3 separate regions of the Homo sapiens genome follow, and all the other regions are linked to region 1. Evidence: promoter capture Hi-C in 16 types of primary human blood cells and fetal thymus (Javierre and others, 2016). All regions are on one chromosome and are shown on one strand. The core of a region is centred on a gene start or on the middle of the fragment in contact, and the rest is flanking DNA. Distances in the headings are between cores, read along the strand shown.

The links. The method cuts DNA at HindIII sites, captures the fragments that hold promoters and counts their contacts. A CHiCAGO score of 5 or more calls a contact.
Region 2: a contact is called between a fragment that was not itself captured here and the fragment with the promoter of CDC73 in region 1, in 1 of 17 cell types (fetal thymus). The highest score is 5.1, in fetal thymus.
Region 3: a fragment that was not itself captured here is called in contact with the fragment with the promoter of CDC73 in region 1 in 1 of 17 cell types (M0 macrophages); the score reaches 5.0 in M0 macrophages.

The regions. Positions count from the first base shown.
Region 1 is chr1:193,119,322-193,124,276 of GRCh38, reverse strand. It overlaps CDC73 (cell division cycle 73), which reads right to left and starts at 2,246. Exons shown (of 17, transcript NM_024529.5): 1 at 1,946-2,246. The coding sequence starts at 2,076. RefSeq lists enhancers at 1,809-1,858, 1,458-2,102, 2,129-2,198, 2,103-2,749 and a silencer at 2,359-2,438. The HindIII fragment of the contact is 13,310 bases long and covers 1,102-4,955 here.
Region 2 is chr1:192,567,963-192,572,917 of GRCh38, reverse strand. The region is part of intron 3 of LOC105371664 (a long non-coding RNA gene); the gene reads left to right. Among named protein-coding and RNA genes, the nearest start is that of RGS1, 5.3 kb to the left of the region's middle. The HindIII fragment of the contact is 682 bases long and covers 1,794-2,475 here.
Region 3 is chr1:192,584,858-192,589,812 of GRCh38, reverse strand. The region is part of intron 3 of LOC105371664 (a long non-coding RNA gene); the gene reads left to right. Among named protein-coding and RNA genes, the nearest start is that of RGS1, 12 kb to the right of the region's middle. The HindIII fragment of the contact is 609 bases long and covers 1,685-2,293 here.

The sequences.
Region 1 (4,955 bases), core at 997-3,496:
GCATACAATAAGAAGAGTAAGTATTGTTTAGTGTTTTATATGTGTATATATTTCCATGTGCATGTGCACATATAGAAAATAAAAACAATTTCTTGGTGTGATAAACTGCTGAAAAAGTTTAAAATCTACTGTGATAAGCACTCCTTTTTCACTGGCTTCACTGGATTGCTGTCAACACATTTACTTTCCAGTTCTTTATGCCTTTAAGCATACAGCCTTTAAGTATACAGTTCACTCATCTTGGAAGACTTAACCCATCATTTAGCCCAGAGAATTCCTACCTATTCTTTAAAGCTTGTTTGTTCATTCATTCATTCATTCAAGAAAACTTTGTTGGATGTGAACTTGCCAAAGACAATTCTATGGAACCTTCTCCTAAATAACCCCAACTAGAAGTGACTGCTGTCTTCAAAAGCTATTGTAGAAAGCATTTCACATCAACTTATAGAAAGCATTTCACATCAACTTATCTGTTTAATCTCCTCTATTCAGACTAAGTTAACCTCCTTTGAGGTAGAAACCAGAGTCTTAGGAATTTTTTTAATCCTCAGATTGAACCACTTCACACCCTAGGTACTCCTTAGCCATTGTCTAAAAAAAAAAAAATTCACTAAAAATCCAACCACATGTAATTCTACCTATGCAAATTATTCGAAAGGGTAAAATACCAGAAACTCAGAATGTCATTTGATCAACATTTTATAAAGCTAATTAAATCATAAGACAAAAAAATTTTAAAACCAACCAATAGGCAGGGCGCCGTGGCTCACGCCTGTAATCCAAGCACTTTGGGAAGTGGAGGCGGGCAGATTATTTGAGGTCAGGAGTTCGAGACCAGCCTGACCAACACGGTGAAACCACATCTCTACTAAACTACATAAATTAGCCGGCCATGGTGGCGGGGGCCTGCAACCTCAGCTACTCAGGAGGCTGAGGCAAGAGAATCACTTGAACCCAGGAGGCAAAGATTGCAGTGAGCCAAGATCGCGCCACTGCACTCCAGCCTGGGCGACAGAGCAAGACTCCCTCTCAAAAATAAATAAATAAATACCAACCAACAAACTAAATTTCCCTAGTTTTTCATCGACTCTTCATAAAGCTTCCATTCAAAGAAACAAAATGAGTAGGGAAGTTGTAGCTCAAGGTTCTAATTCTAGAAGCGATGCACCAATGACAGTGACATCATTAAAAAGGCCCCTAATGACTGTTAGAGCCGTCTCTAGAAGTTTTCCTGAATGACTTAAACTGATAAAACTTCACATGGACCAACATTCCCAAACATTTCCCTTTAAAATACACTTCCGAAAAATCACACGCACCATCTATTTCTTAGATCTGTAAAGCTCACTCATTTCACCAACTCCTGAAGACCTCTCTAACACAGACTTTTATGACTCTTCCAAATTCACCAAATTTCTTTCCGGTCCTAACTTCAGGGTTGATTCCCTTTTCTCTTCTACAGGAATCACCCCCACCCCAACAATGAAAGGAGATGAAATAAACCAGGAGTTGCAAAGACCAGCGGAGATAGTTACATAGCAGCCTGGAAAAGAGAAAAAAAAAATAAAGAACAAAAAGAGGCGTCTACGGCACCAGACGGTGTGCTCCTTTGTGCACCTATGTTCAGGTATCCCTTGCGCACCAGTCCCACACTTCGCTGGTACACATACCTACTGATAAAAATTAACTGTAAAAGTCAGAAACTCCCACGGTACCTTTCCTTTGGGCTTCTCAAAAATTTTAAGTGATGAACTGCTCTAGAGCTCCGCCCCTTCTTTCCTTACCCTAAAAGTGCAACTTCTGCTCTAGAGAGAAACTTTCTTTTCCCCGAACACCCGTTTTATCCCATCCCCAGGGGAAACGGGGGGAGGGGTTAAGAAAGAGGTCGCCTGGGGGCGCCCAACTCTGCCCTGCCACCCCTGGGCCACAGCCATGCCGGACTTACCCCCAAACAACATAGTTGGTCTTCACATTCTTGGGCCAGGAGAACTCCCCGAAGATCACTTCGTCTCCCTTCACCACAATCTCCTTCTTCTGGATGTTGTACTGTCGCAGGACGCTAAGCACGTCCGCCATCTTCCCCCCCCTCGCCTCCGCCGGCTCGGGGCGCCGCCGCTGCCGCCGCGCCTGCCTCCTTCTTCTCTTGTCGCCTCGCCCTCTTCCTCCTCCTCCTTCGCCGCCGCGACGAACCAACAGCAGCAGCACTAACAGCCGTCCTCGCCTACGACAGCAGCAGGGGCAGTAGCCACCCAGGCCGCCGAGGACCCCGCGCTGTAAGGCAAGGCCCCGCCGCCGGCTGCCCGCGGAGAACGCCTGACTGCGCCCCTCCAGCGAGGCACATCCGCCGCCAGGGGGAGCCGCGACCGCCTGGAAAAGTGCCCCTCCCAGACTTCAGCTGGGCACGGAGCCCACTCACTCGCTGAAACGCTGAGCGCTGGGGCACCGCGCCCACGTACGGCGCACGTACGGGGAACTTTGCCGGGCGCGCGCGCGCGGAGCACGTACCCAGTACCCCGCGGCGCGCACCAAGCGGCGTCAGGTGCGCGCGTACCTGAGCAGTGGGTCAGCACTTCCATCCCCAGCACGTGCACTGAGTATTTAACGAACTGTCTCGGGTGCGACCAGAGGCTCCCCCGGGTCCCTGCTTTGGCCGGGATGGAATTCGGCAAGGATTTGCGGAACACTAGAATTACCTTCCTATTTAGATCGGACCCAGGCCTAGCCAAAGACCTCTAGGACTTAGTGATCCGGAGAAGCCCTTTTGAAAGAGTGGGGCTCTTGGGGTTGGGGTTGGGGTTTTTTGTTTGCTTTTGATGTGGAAAAGAACGAGTTTTGGTTTTTTGTTGGTTTTGAGTGGAAAAGACCGAGTCCAGAAAAAAAAAAAAACAGTTCTGGGCACTGCTCGTCAAGTTACATAGCTTCTCACAGCATCAATTGGTTAATGAAGAAAATGGGGTTAATACGAAGATAAGGTAAACGCGCCTAGCAAGTCAATAAAATATCCTAAATGTTGGATCCTCCCTCTTCATTCTTTGGATGATGACTTTTTCCATCGCGGTCCCTTCTCCCCGCCAATCCCGAAGGGCTATATTCAAAAGGCTGTGTTCCAAGATGTAAATGGGAAAGTTGCCCTAACAGAAACCCCAAACGGTCCAATTTAGAACACTTCCAGACTACCCAATTTTTTAAATGGTACTCAGAAGTCTCAGTGGTGTCCTTGACATGCGTTTTGAGACGGTTAAGATAAGTTCAATATACTATGGCCAACCAAACACATCCTATGGGATTGTTTTTTTTCTTTTACCATGTCAGAAGGAAAAAAGAGGCAACTTTGTGTTTGACATAACCAAATTCCTTGACCTGTTTTGAAAAAAGTCAATCTTTTCACAACGCAGAGGACTACAGATACAGAAGTGTGTGGTTCATTTCCGATATGATCTGTAGCCATTCTGCAACTGTTAGTTTGTGAAATTTTTTTCTGTTCCACCAATGTTTTCACCCCGTAGTATTCTCCTGAATCTCACCCCAAGCACACACATTATAAAGAAATGGCTACAATTACCTATCCCCACATTCTCTATTCATACCTGTGTCAGAGCACTCAGTACCATATTACTTCCCTTTATAGTTTATTTGCCTGCATCCACAAAACTGAAACACCATAGATCTGTGTCCTCATATCCTACTGTCTAACATTATTTGGTACATATTAGTAATAAATGGATGAATTCAATAAATTGATGGAAGCTCCTAGTAAATATCGAGTTAATACATGGATAGAGGCTTCTAATAAATGTTGAAGTAATGAATGGAAAGATAAGCTCAAGGAAGCCAAGATTTCATGATTAGGAGGCTCGACTATAGTCCCTTCAAACGATACTTAATTTTATTTCATACTCAAATAATGATTAAAGTCTCTCTTTTCAGAGAAATTATGTTTTTTAGGTTAATGAATTTTAAAAAGTGGTAAGATAAGTCATTAGTAAGTTGTTGCTTTTAACAGTTAAAGCATTGAAATTTGTAGATCATTTTTTTCCTGACCAGCCTGGGCAACATACCTAGACCCTGTGTCTACAGAAGCAATTGTAGATCATTTTTGTTTTTATCTAAGTACCCTTATAATTGCCCTACCAATACTGGTTCATTGGAGGATGTCAAAATACAATAAAAGGCAAGATTAGTGGTAGAGCTGAAAAATTAGAAAATTAATTAGAAAAAAACAGAAAAATAGTCTGGTTTCTTTGTCTTGGGCAAAAGCAGTCCACATCTCCAGATATTAGCTCCTGAAGAATTCCTAAAAAATCTTTAGTTTTATGTCTTCTGTTAGAGTAAATGCCCAGCAATCAGAAGAAAGTGGTATGTCTTTTTAGTTGGAAACGATGGATCCAACATCATTACCTTGGAGTTTAAACCACTACCTCAATTGCTAACAGTACCCAATAAGGTTCTTTCCACCAGTGCCCAAGGACAGTTTTATTCTGGTTCCTTTTCCAAAGGACCAAATTGCCAGGTTTTAGATCAATCAAAGTCTGCTTAGGTAAGTATTTTGGAAATGCACTTGAACCTACTAGGGATAATTCGGCAGGTAGCATAAGTCTCATGAAGCATTTATTTATATTACTCTGTAATGGTAGAACGTAGGATTGGAAGTAAAATTTTCAAATACATGGGTAGGGGGAGGCTGTTAATTCAAGAAGAGATAATCTGTGGGTCCCAGAAGGGGTTGATTTATTGTCATCAATCAATCATGACTAATGGCAATTTGAAGGGCCATGAAATTTGTTTTTCGAAACTGTTGATAATTTTAGTTTTAGGACTCTGTTAGTTCTCTTTACTTTTCCTAAAGTTTGGGGGAAATCAGTGTGTGGAGTTATAGCTCCCTAGCAAGGAAAAGCCTCAGTCCATCCAGAGAGTAAGCAAACAACAACCCAGACATAGTCATAGTTTATTCCAGG
Region 2 (4,955 bases), core at 885-3,384, 550 kb after region 1:
GAAAATTTTAATCTTTGCTGAACTGATTTGAATGGAAACATTTGGTTTCAATTACTCCAATTACTGGAATACTAATAGGGAGTGCTTTCCTTAAACCTGATGTTGTTTGAACTTTTAAAATGTTGCTAAAATCTTATTGTGGATATTAGAATTGTGAGACAAGGGGTAATGATGAGTATAATATTCTATTTTAAAATAAAAATGTATCCATACTGGAAAAGTCAGTGACGTGGAAAGATAGCTTGATCCATTGAAACAAAATGTTTCGATTCAACAAAGTTTAATTGCATCCCTACAGTGTATCACACATAAAGCACTGCAGATACAAAGATGAATGAATCTCTGTCTTAAGGGGTTCACTGTGTAGTGGGGCTGACAGATGTTTGTGAGAGGTGCCATCAGAGAGGAATGTACAGAGAAAAGAACACAGAGGAGTAATTACCTCTGGAAGTATGAGAAAGGAAGCAAAGTACTGCTGTCTTTACTGTAAAATCAACATGTATCTATTCTTTGCTTGTTTCTGCATTTGTGTTTAGCATCCCTTGGAAAGTTCAAATGGCTGCAATGGAGAAACTGGTCTCTAGTAAGAGACCAGTTTTATGTTGAAGGATCATGGAAAAATGGATCCCATATGTACTCACAAAGCTTTGCAAACTTTCAAAAGTACTCTGAATGACTTAGTTGAATTAGCATAACCACTCAGAGCTTCCTTGGTCTTCAAGGTTTATAGATAAGGCTACTAAAAGTGTTTCAGCTAAATTTCATAGAGTTTATTTGAAAATTTGAAAAAGCTGCAACAAAAGTGAGTTTAGAAGGATTTTTCTCTGTATGTGTATAGAGGGTTGGTGAAAACTTTATATCGTGTGAATGAAAAGTTTAAACATTTTAGACTTGCTTATGATTTTGTTGTGAAGAAATATGATGGGTTTTAATAAGAGCAAATATATGCAACACACTAAACTTCAATGATCTCAGTAAGTGCAACTGAGCAAGATAAGAATCTAGTTTCTTTTTCTCACTCTGCTCCAATCTTTCAGTCAACACTGACTGCCTCCTTTCTATAATTTGAGAATTTACAAGAAAATAGTATGTGGGACCTTCAGTGAACTGAGCTTATGTGATTCAATAAGCCTCATTCACCCTAAATCTAATTTTACCAGTTAAGTTCTTGATAATAGGCCCGTGTTCCAAGACATTCTTGAAAGCACTGAGGAAATCTTTTGATAATATTATCTCTGGTATACTTATTCCATATTGGATTTATTTTCATTTAATGTCACACTATCACTTATAATCCTTTCAACAAGAGAGAGTAGTTATGTCTGACTCTAGACTGTGCTTTGCAAATAAAATTTCGTAAGTATGGAAGGAGGTGCCTTATTCCCAAACCCAAATAAATGGAGAGCTATGCTAAATGAACACTGACACATTATTTGGAGTTGGGATAGAATGTTCTGTTACATAACAATGACATAAATGCAAAAATGATGGAGGTGCTCAAATATCTGCATGTAGAGGATTTGGAAAGGAAGGTGATATAGTTTGGATTTGTGTTCTCTCTAAATTTCATGTTGAATTGTAATTCCCAATGTTTGAGATGGGGCCTGGTGGGAGGTGATTGGATCATGGGGGAGAATCCCTCATAGCTTGGTGCTGTCTTCACAATGGTGAGTAAGTTCTCTCAAGACCTGATTGTTTAAGAGAGTGTGGCCCCTGTCCCCTACAACTATTTCTCTTGCTCCTGCCATGTGAGACACCTGTTCCCCCTTCATCTTCTGCCATGATTGGAAGCTTCCTGAGACCTCCCCAGAAGCAGATGCCAGCTCTATGCTTCTTGTGCAAGCTACAGAACCGTGAGCCAATGAAACCACTTTTCTTTAAATAAATTACTTAGTCTTAGGTACTTCTTTATAGCAATACAAGAATGGCCTAGTACAGAAAATTGGTACTGAGGAGGGGGGAACTGTTATAAAGTTACTTGAAATGTGGAAGCAGCTTTGGAACTGGGTAACAAGCAGAGGTTGGAAGAGTTTGGAGGGCTCAGAAGAAGACGAGAAGATGATGGAAAATTTAGAATTTATTAGAGACTGGTTAAATGGTCATGATCAAAATGCTGATAGTGATATGGACAATGAAGTCCAGGCTGAGGAGGTCTCAGATGGCAATGAGGATCTTACCGGAAACTGGAGCAAAGGTCATGCATGTTATGCCTTAGCAAAGAGCCTGGCTGTACTATGCCCCTGCCCTAGGGACCTGTGGTAGTTTGAATTTCAGAGTGATGATTTAGAGTATCTGGCAGAAGAAATTTCTAAGCAGCAAAGTGTTCAAGATGGGGCCTGGCTGCTTCTGACAACCTACACTTATATGTAAAAGCAAAGAAATGACTTCAAGTTGGAAGTTCTATTTAAAAGGGAAGCAGAGAAAAAAAGTTTGGAAAATTTCCAGCCTAGCCATGTGATAGGGAATGAAAAAGCTTTTGTGGGAGAGGAATTCAAGCAAGCTGTGGAGCAACCATTTACTAGAGATACTTGGAAAAGGGAGCCAAGTGCTAATATCCCAGACAATGGGGGAAAGGCCTCAAAGGCATTTCGAGGCCTTCAGGGCAATCCCTCCCATCACAGGCCTAGAGGCCTAGGAGGATGGTTTTGTGGGCTTGGCCAAGGGCTCCACTGCTAGGTGCAGCCTCAGGACACTGCTGTCTGCATCCTGGCAGCTCTGGCTCCAGACTCAGCTCAAAGGGTCTTAGATACAGCTAGGGCTGCTGCCTCAGAAGATACAAGCTATAAAACTTGGCAGCTTCCATGTGTGGTTAACCTTGTAGGCACAGAGAGTGCAAGAGTGAATGAGGCTTGGCAGCCTCCACCTAGATTTCAGAGGGTGTGCAAGAAAGCCTGGGTAGCCAGGCAGAAGCCTGCTTCAGGGGCAGAGTCCTCACAGAGAACCTCTACTAGGGCAATGTGGAGAGAAAATGTGGCTTTGGAGCCCCCACACAGAGTCCCCACTGGGGCACTGACGGGTGGAGCTGTGAGGAGGGACCCACCATCCTCCAGATCCCAGAATGGTAGAGCCACTGGCAGCTTGAACCCTGTGCCTGGAAAAACCACAGGCTCTCAGTTCCAACCTGTGAGAGCAGCTACTTGGGCTGCACCCTAAACATCCACAGGGCATTGGGAGTCTACCCCTTGCTCCATTGTGCCTTCCATGTGGGACATGGAGTCAAAGGATATAATTTTGGAGCTTTAAGATTTAAAGACTGCCCTGCTGGGTTCTGGACTTTCATGGAGCATGTAGCCCCCTTTTTCGGCTGATTTTTCCCTTTTGGAGTGAGAATGTTTACCTAATGCTTGTACCCCCATTGTGTCTTAGAAGTAAGTAACTTGTTTTTTATTTTATAGGCTCATAAGGGGAAGGGACTTGCCTTGTCTCGGATGAGACTTTGGACTTTGAATTTCTGAGTTAATGCTGAAATGTCTTAAGACTTTGGGGGACTGTTGGGAAGGGACACTTGTATTTTGCAGTGTGAGAAGAAACTGAGGCTTGAGGGCAAGGGGCAGAATTGATATAGTTTGGATATGTGTCCCCTCTAAATCTCTTGTTGTATTGTAATCTCCAGTGTTGGAGGTGGGACCTGGTAGGAGGTGATTGGCTCATGGGGGAGGATCTTCATGATGGTGAGTGAGTTCTCTCAAGATCTGGTTGTTTAAAAGAGTGTGGCACCTCCCTCCCCACAACCCTCTCTCTCTTGCTCCTGCTGGCACCATGTGAGACACTTGCTCCCCTGTCACCTCCTGCCATGATTGGAAGCTTCCTGAGACCTATCCAGAAGCAGATGCCAGTGCTATGCTTCCTGTATAGCCTGCAGAACCATGAGCCAATTAAATTTCTTTTTTAAAAAAATAAATTACTTAGTACCAGGTATTTCTTTATAGCAATGCAAGAATGGCCTAATACAGAGGTATGTTTTAAATATTAGAGAGCAACTTCAATAAATGACTGTTAACTTTCCAAGTTTCTAATAACACTATTCCAGTGATTTCATTTGCTTTTGTTCTTACTAAACATCGAGGTGGCTAACAATAGAGACTTATTTGCTTTGCTTTTCCTCATTAATTATATAATTTTCTTAGAAAAATCTCTCAAGATTTCCTGACATGTTCTGTTCTTTCCAAAACCATGCCAGTTATTGCTGACAAACACATTAACTCCACTTTCTTCATGTCCTTTCTAATGCTTTGCTTTTATGTCTATTTACATATATCTATATATATAAAGTGTATACATTTATATAATATGTGTATATAATATATATACCTATATATTTTATTATTATTATTTTACTAAATATTGGTGTCAGACTTACCGGACATTTGTTTGTAGTAATAATCTTCCTACTTGAGAAAGTAGCTCTAAGTCAACAGATAGTGTCCATGCTTAGCAGTATACTACTATTATTGTGAGTACAAGTGGTCTGTGGTGTTCCACTGTTTTCTGTGTCTGTTCTGTTTTTTTTTTTTTTATTAAGCCTTGTCTGCCATCTTATTTGTATTCTATTTTAAAAAATAAATGAAAGGCTTTGATTCTGTTGAATCCCAGTGACATGTTCATCTTGCTGCTTTGAAATCTCACATTTCAAAAGACTGTGAGCCAATTCTCACAGCTATACCTTTTCCTGCTGTGTGAGTTTGATCAAATCAGCTAACTTCTTTTCAGTTTTCTTTGTGTAGAAGTCAAAGGCGATCATCAGCAACTTGCAGCTATGGTAGTGGCATGGGAAGATCTCCTTTTGAAATTCTATACCAATCAAAACTAGCCCCAGAGAAATTAAGATTTAGACAGAATTTGCCATAGCTAGGATGTTTTCCATTTTTCTTATGATGTTAGAGTTCTTTGCCTAGACTTCTTCCTAAAATTTAGTAAATTTGGCAATCCACCTGTTCCAAATGCAGGGCTACTCT
Region 3 (4,955 bases), core at 740-3,239, 530 kb after region 1:
TGGTATAAAACCCATGTCCTTTAGAGGCTTTTCGATGTTCACTGAGATATTATCTCATCTATTTGGATAACTGGTAACACTCTTACCTCAAATCAGCATCAGTTATATTTCTCCTTAGCCCAACTCCAAATAAATCATCCAAACAAATAATATTTGTCATAATGGAATAAATAAACAATGGATTTAAGGTAAAAAGTACATTTTCTGCTAGTTGGGTAAATTGCTTTACCTTGCTCAACCTTGATTTACTGTCTATAAAGCAGGAATAGTAACACCTTTTTCTATCTAATAGTGCTGTTCTGGAATCAAAGAAAGGATATCTATTACAGTTGTGAATACCGTATGGGCTTTTTCTCTTCTTATGCTATACTTAGCTGTGCACATGCCATCTCTGGATCAAACAGTAGTCATATTGACTGCAGAATATGTGGCTGACTGATCACAGCACCTAACCCAGTGCCCTGTTTGCAGAATAGCCTGAATAAATACTTTTTATAAATAATGAACAAATCTCCATTTTAGATTATTTTGCCTTATTTAATTAACTCTTTTATTATATAATATGCTAAGTTTATAACCTGATAAACTCATGTTTTGGAAGTAGATGCATAATAAATCTTAAATATATGATGTATTCATCAGAGATCTCAAATGATTCTAGCAGAAGCTTTGGAACTGGAATGGCTCTTCAGAACTGACCCAGTTGAGACAAGGGGGCTAGATCTTTGGACTGTGATCTGACCACTCACTGACTACAGGCTGCTATCAAAGAGGAGATGTAAACCTGGTAAGGCAGCGTCCACAAGCCAAAGGCAATTCCTGGAATACAACTAATCAGTGAGATGTTAGCAGTCAAAATTCCCAGATGCTTGGAGGTAGAGCACCTCAGTTCTAAAGGGAGATTGTGTACTGCAGTATACAATACCATCCACTCTTTGTATCTTCTAGATATTATTGCTTTATATAGCGAGTTCAAATCCATCTGGAAACAGCTGTTGTTGGGTTCTGGAGGAACTTTTTTTCTGGGGAAATCTTATGAGAGGTCAGTGGAATGAAGTACTTCACCAACACCACCACTGTGTTTAATCTTGAGGCCACAACTATTACTCATTATCTTTCTCTTCTATTCCCCATTCCAGTTTCCTGTCACACTCAGCCAGGCTCTCTGCCTCCTTCTTCTTCTTAGGAAGAAGCATGATTTTACTTTTCTTCCTCTGCACATGGGAAGCCCCTCAAATGGGAACTCTGCCCCAGTCTAACATTACCTGCCACTGGATAGTGAGTTGGTCTAATTCTACATTAAATGAGCAAGCCCCTTTGACCCTTTCCCAATGCTGTGTTCTTTGACCTACATGTATCAGTAATATTTTGGCTTCCACCTCAATCTTTTAATTTTATTTCTCAAATAATGAGAACCTGGGTAGGAAGAAGGACATTATTCCATGGGAGACCATCCAAGACCACCCTTCTTCCATAAGGAATTAGGCTGCTGTAAATGTTTGCTAATGGTGTTGGTGATATTTAATGAGGCAAACACCTCTTCCAATTCTTCTTTCTAGCTGTAGACTGATCTGATTTTCAATTCAGTGGGCTTGGTTCTATCAGTGTTGAATCCTAACTCCATGTGGGAAGAATGTCTTACCATCTCTTGAATGATACACTGTTCCTATGTGTTCTGGAAGCTTCACAGAATGTTCAGGGAGTTTGCCCTCTTAGTGTTTGTCATACATTTTATTGCTCTCTCCTCTCCCTCAGACTCTGGACCTTCATCAAAGTACAATATGAGTGTCAGGCATCAGCCATAATTAAAGTAGTATTTCTGCTAGCTCTGTCCAACTGTTTGTATGTCAAATTTGTGCATCACAAAACTTTCTCCTCATAGGATGAATTATTTCATAGGTAGCTATGTGGTCCTTTAGGGAAACTGGCTCTGTGAGTTCATGCGTCTATTTTTTCTGGTATGTACTAAATTCACACCTCCTGCCTGAATCCCAGGTAACCACAGGTATGCTTTTTAGAGCTGTACATTATATTTTCTTAGAATTCTGACTAATACTTGATGATTGGCCCATTTTAACCTCAAAGCATTTATGTCTGTATGGGATGTAGCCCTAAATTGAGTCAAAGCAAATGAATGGAAAATACATGTTGCGTGGCCAAATTGATTTCACGAAGTTTTTTTATCCATTGTAAAATTTTCCATCACTTATTCTTTTCCTGCTTCTTGGCCTTCACCTCCCTTTTTCTTGTTGTTTTTGGCATTTCGTCTCCCAAGCTGTGCCTGAAATAAGCTTTTCACATATTGTTCTCATCTATAGCTTATATCTTCTCTTCCAGTCAGCTCTATCTCAAAGAACATCACAGGGTTAGAGAGATAACCTCTGTCTAATATGGGAACTAAGTAAGACTGCATTGTGACGGAGAAATTGCCCTGTTTTTTTTTTTTTCCAGGATGGATCCATATCTCTTTAGAGATGAAATAAGGAACTATTTCTTTTTGAAAGAAATTTAAATTTATATCAGTGTCTTTGTATTCATCAGGATAAAATTTCCTAGGGACTCTAACAAATAATTCCCACATCTCAATGGCTTTTATGATCACTCATAAAAATGCCAGTGTGAGATGCATGGCTCTTCTTGGTAATTCCTTCATGTGCCTTTGCAATGTCAAGTTCTTTTGCTTCCAGCAGTGCTCCTTCTAGAAGGAAGAGGGTGGAGAAGAGAGAACAATTAGGATGTCTTATTGCGAGGCCTAGAACTGGTGGCTATCCTTTCTGCTCACATTTCACCAAGTAGAACTCAGTTTTATGGCTTTAATAATTCAAGGTAAAATATCAAGTTACAATTTGAGATAACGTAGCAAATTTAAGGTAAAAGGGCTAATGGAAAATAAATATCCAGTCAAATATTAACTGTATAGAAACATCCATAGAAGTTTCTATATTTGCCATCTTCTTTAACAAGGGCTGGGAAATGTAGTCTTCTTGGTGCCAGGGAGAGGGCCTAAGACTGGTGAACAGATAGACAGTCTCTACCACATCTCCTAAAACAAACAAAAAGAATAATTTTGGGACAATAACTATAGCTAAAGTAGAAATATATGGATGTGAGCAAAGTAATATTAGTAATTAGTAGGACTGACTTATTCCAGCTCTTCTGGGCCCCAATAATACCAGAGTTTATATTTATTTGTGAGTTACAGAGAATGCAATTCATCCAATGTTCAAGAAGTTCACAAAATAATTTGGCATACTTTGAATTCAATCCACTGTGTTGTGTACCTCTTACTTCTCTGAAGCCATAAACTTCCTTCAGGACAGAACAAACTACTCTCTCCTCTGAGCTCTCATAACACATTTTTCCTGTTTGTCAAGGGAAGGCTGAGATAAACCCCAAGAATTCCACAGGAGCAGAAGGAGAAGGGGCAGGATGTTCATGGTTCTTCAGCTTTACAGCATCCCATGAGGAGGCAGGTGTAGCTTGCCCTCACTGCTCCCCAGTACCTCCCCTTGTTTTTTTAAATAGGATCTTTGGAAGCAAATAGACAGCACCCAGCTGATTTGGTGACAGCAGAGAGAGGGCTTGCAAGAGGAGAAAAACTTGATGTGACTTGATGCCCAGGGAGGTTGCATACAGTGCTGATATGCAAAGTGTCTCCCACTATAGGGAGGAAGAGCCACCAGTCCCATTTGACTTTTTCCTAGGGATCTGAAGAGAACCCCTAGGCAGATCATCTATCAGACAATCTTATTTGTCTCTCCTTTATACCTCTTTTATAATGCTTATAGTCTATTTTACTATAATCCATTTGCCTCCTTCTTCCCAAGAGCGTAGTGAACTTATTTTTGCTTTATTATTTATCATTTCAGTGGGTCTAGCACCTAGTGAGGCTTATGGCACATAGCAGGTGTCATTACTGATAAATATGTTAATTTATCAATTAATAATTAGACTCTTTTCCAGACTACTTTAGCACTTCTTACTACCCCCATAGAAAGTATAAATTGTAATCAATCTAGTCAAAATTATGCCAAAGAAACATTATAGGAAGTATCTTATTTAGCTCTTCCTATGGGAACATGTTCTACGTATTACTTCTTCATAGTGGGTCATTTGTCTCATTAACTGACAGATTTAAGAAAAAAGCACTAGACTTCGAGTACAATCTGTTTTTATCACTAATTCATGCTGAGGGTTACAAGGCAGGGGATAAAAGATGAAACCAGAGCAGAATGTGTTGATCTTACTGACTTAAACCAAGCCTACTGAATTTTTCACTTTCTAGGTTTGACTAGAATAGCAGTACATAGTTTAGGGGGATGGGATAATATCTGAAATTTACATCATTCTGATTCCTTTTCTCTATGTAAAAATAAAGGATAAAAAAATCTTCACTCATTTTGAGGAGTTAAGGCAAAGATGATTGAACTGAAAAATGTGCCGAAAGAGTGACTGGCTACCTTAAGTCTTCAGTCCTATTTTTCTCTCTATTGACAAGAAGTGGGCACTACCATCATCCCATCAGTCAAATAGACCCACTTTCCACAGGAGGAGGGAGAATTCCTGCCCCACTGTTGATTTCAACACAGGCCTCCACGCTGTCTACTGCTGTGGGTCACCATGATGGTTTTGTTTGTGTTTGACAGTTTTTTTTTTTTTTTTTTTTTTTTTGCCCATCTCTTGGCCTGAATCCTAGATTTTGGTTTTGTTTCCTGTCTGTAAAAGGTGCTTTGACCTTACAGCTATTACTTGCTGCAATTCTTTTGAGTTTCTTGATCCTTGTTTTTTGTTCTCAGCCTGGATTGTGTCTTGCAAGCCTCTGCTTTTGTCCAAGTTAAAAGTGAGCTTTGAGAGAAAACATGTGGAATGTTTCATATACATGGTAATTGGAATAAACCATTGTCTACTGAAAATACTGCATAATTTATTTTGCATGTGGAAACTCTTGAAAGTGT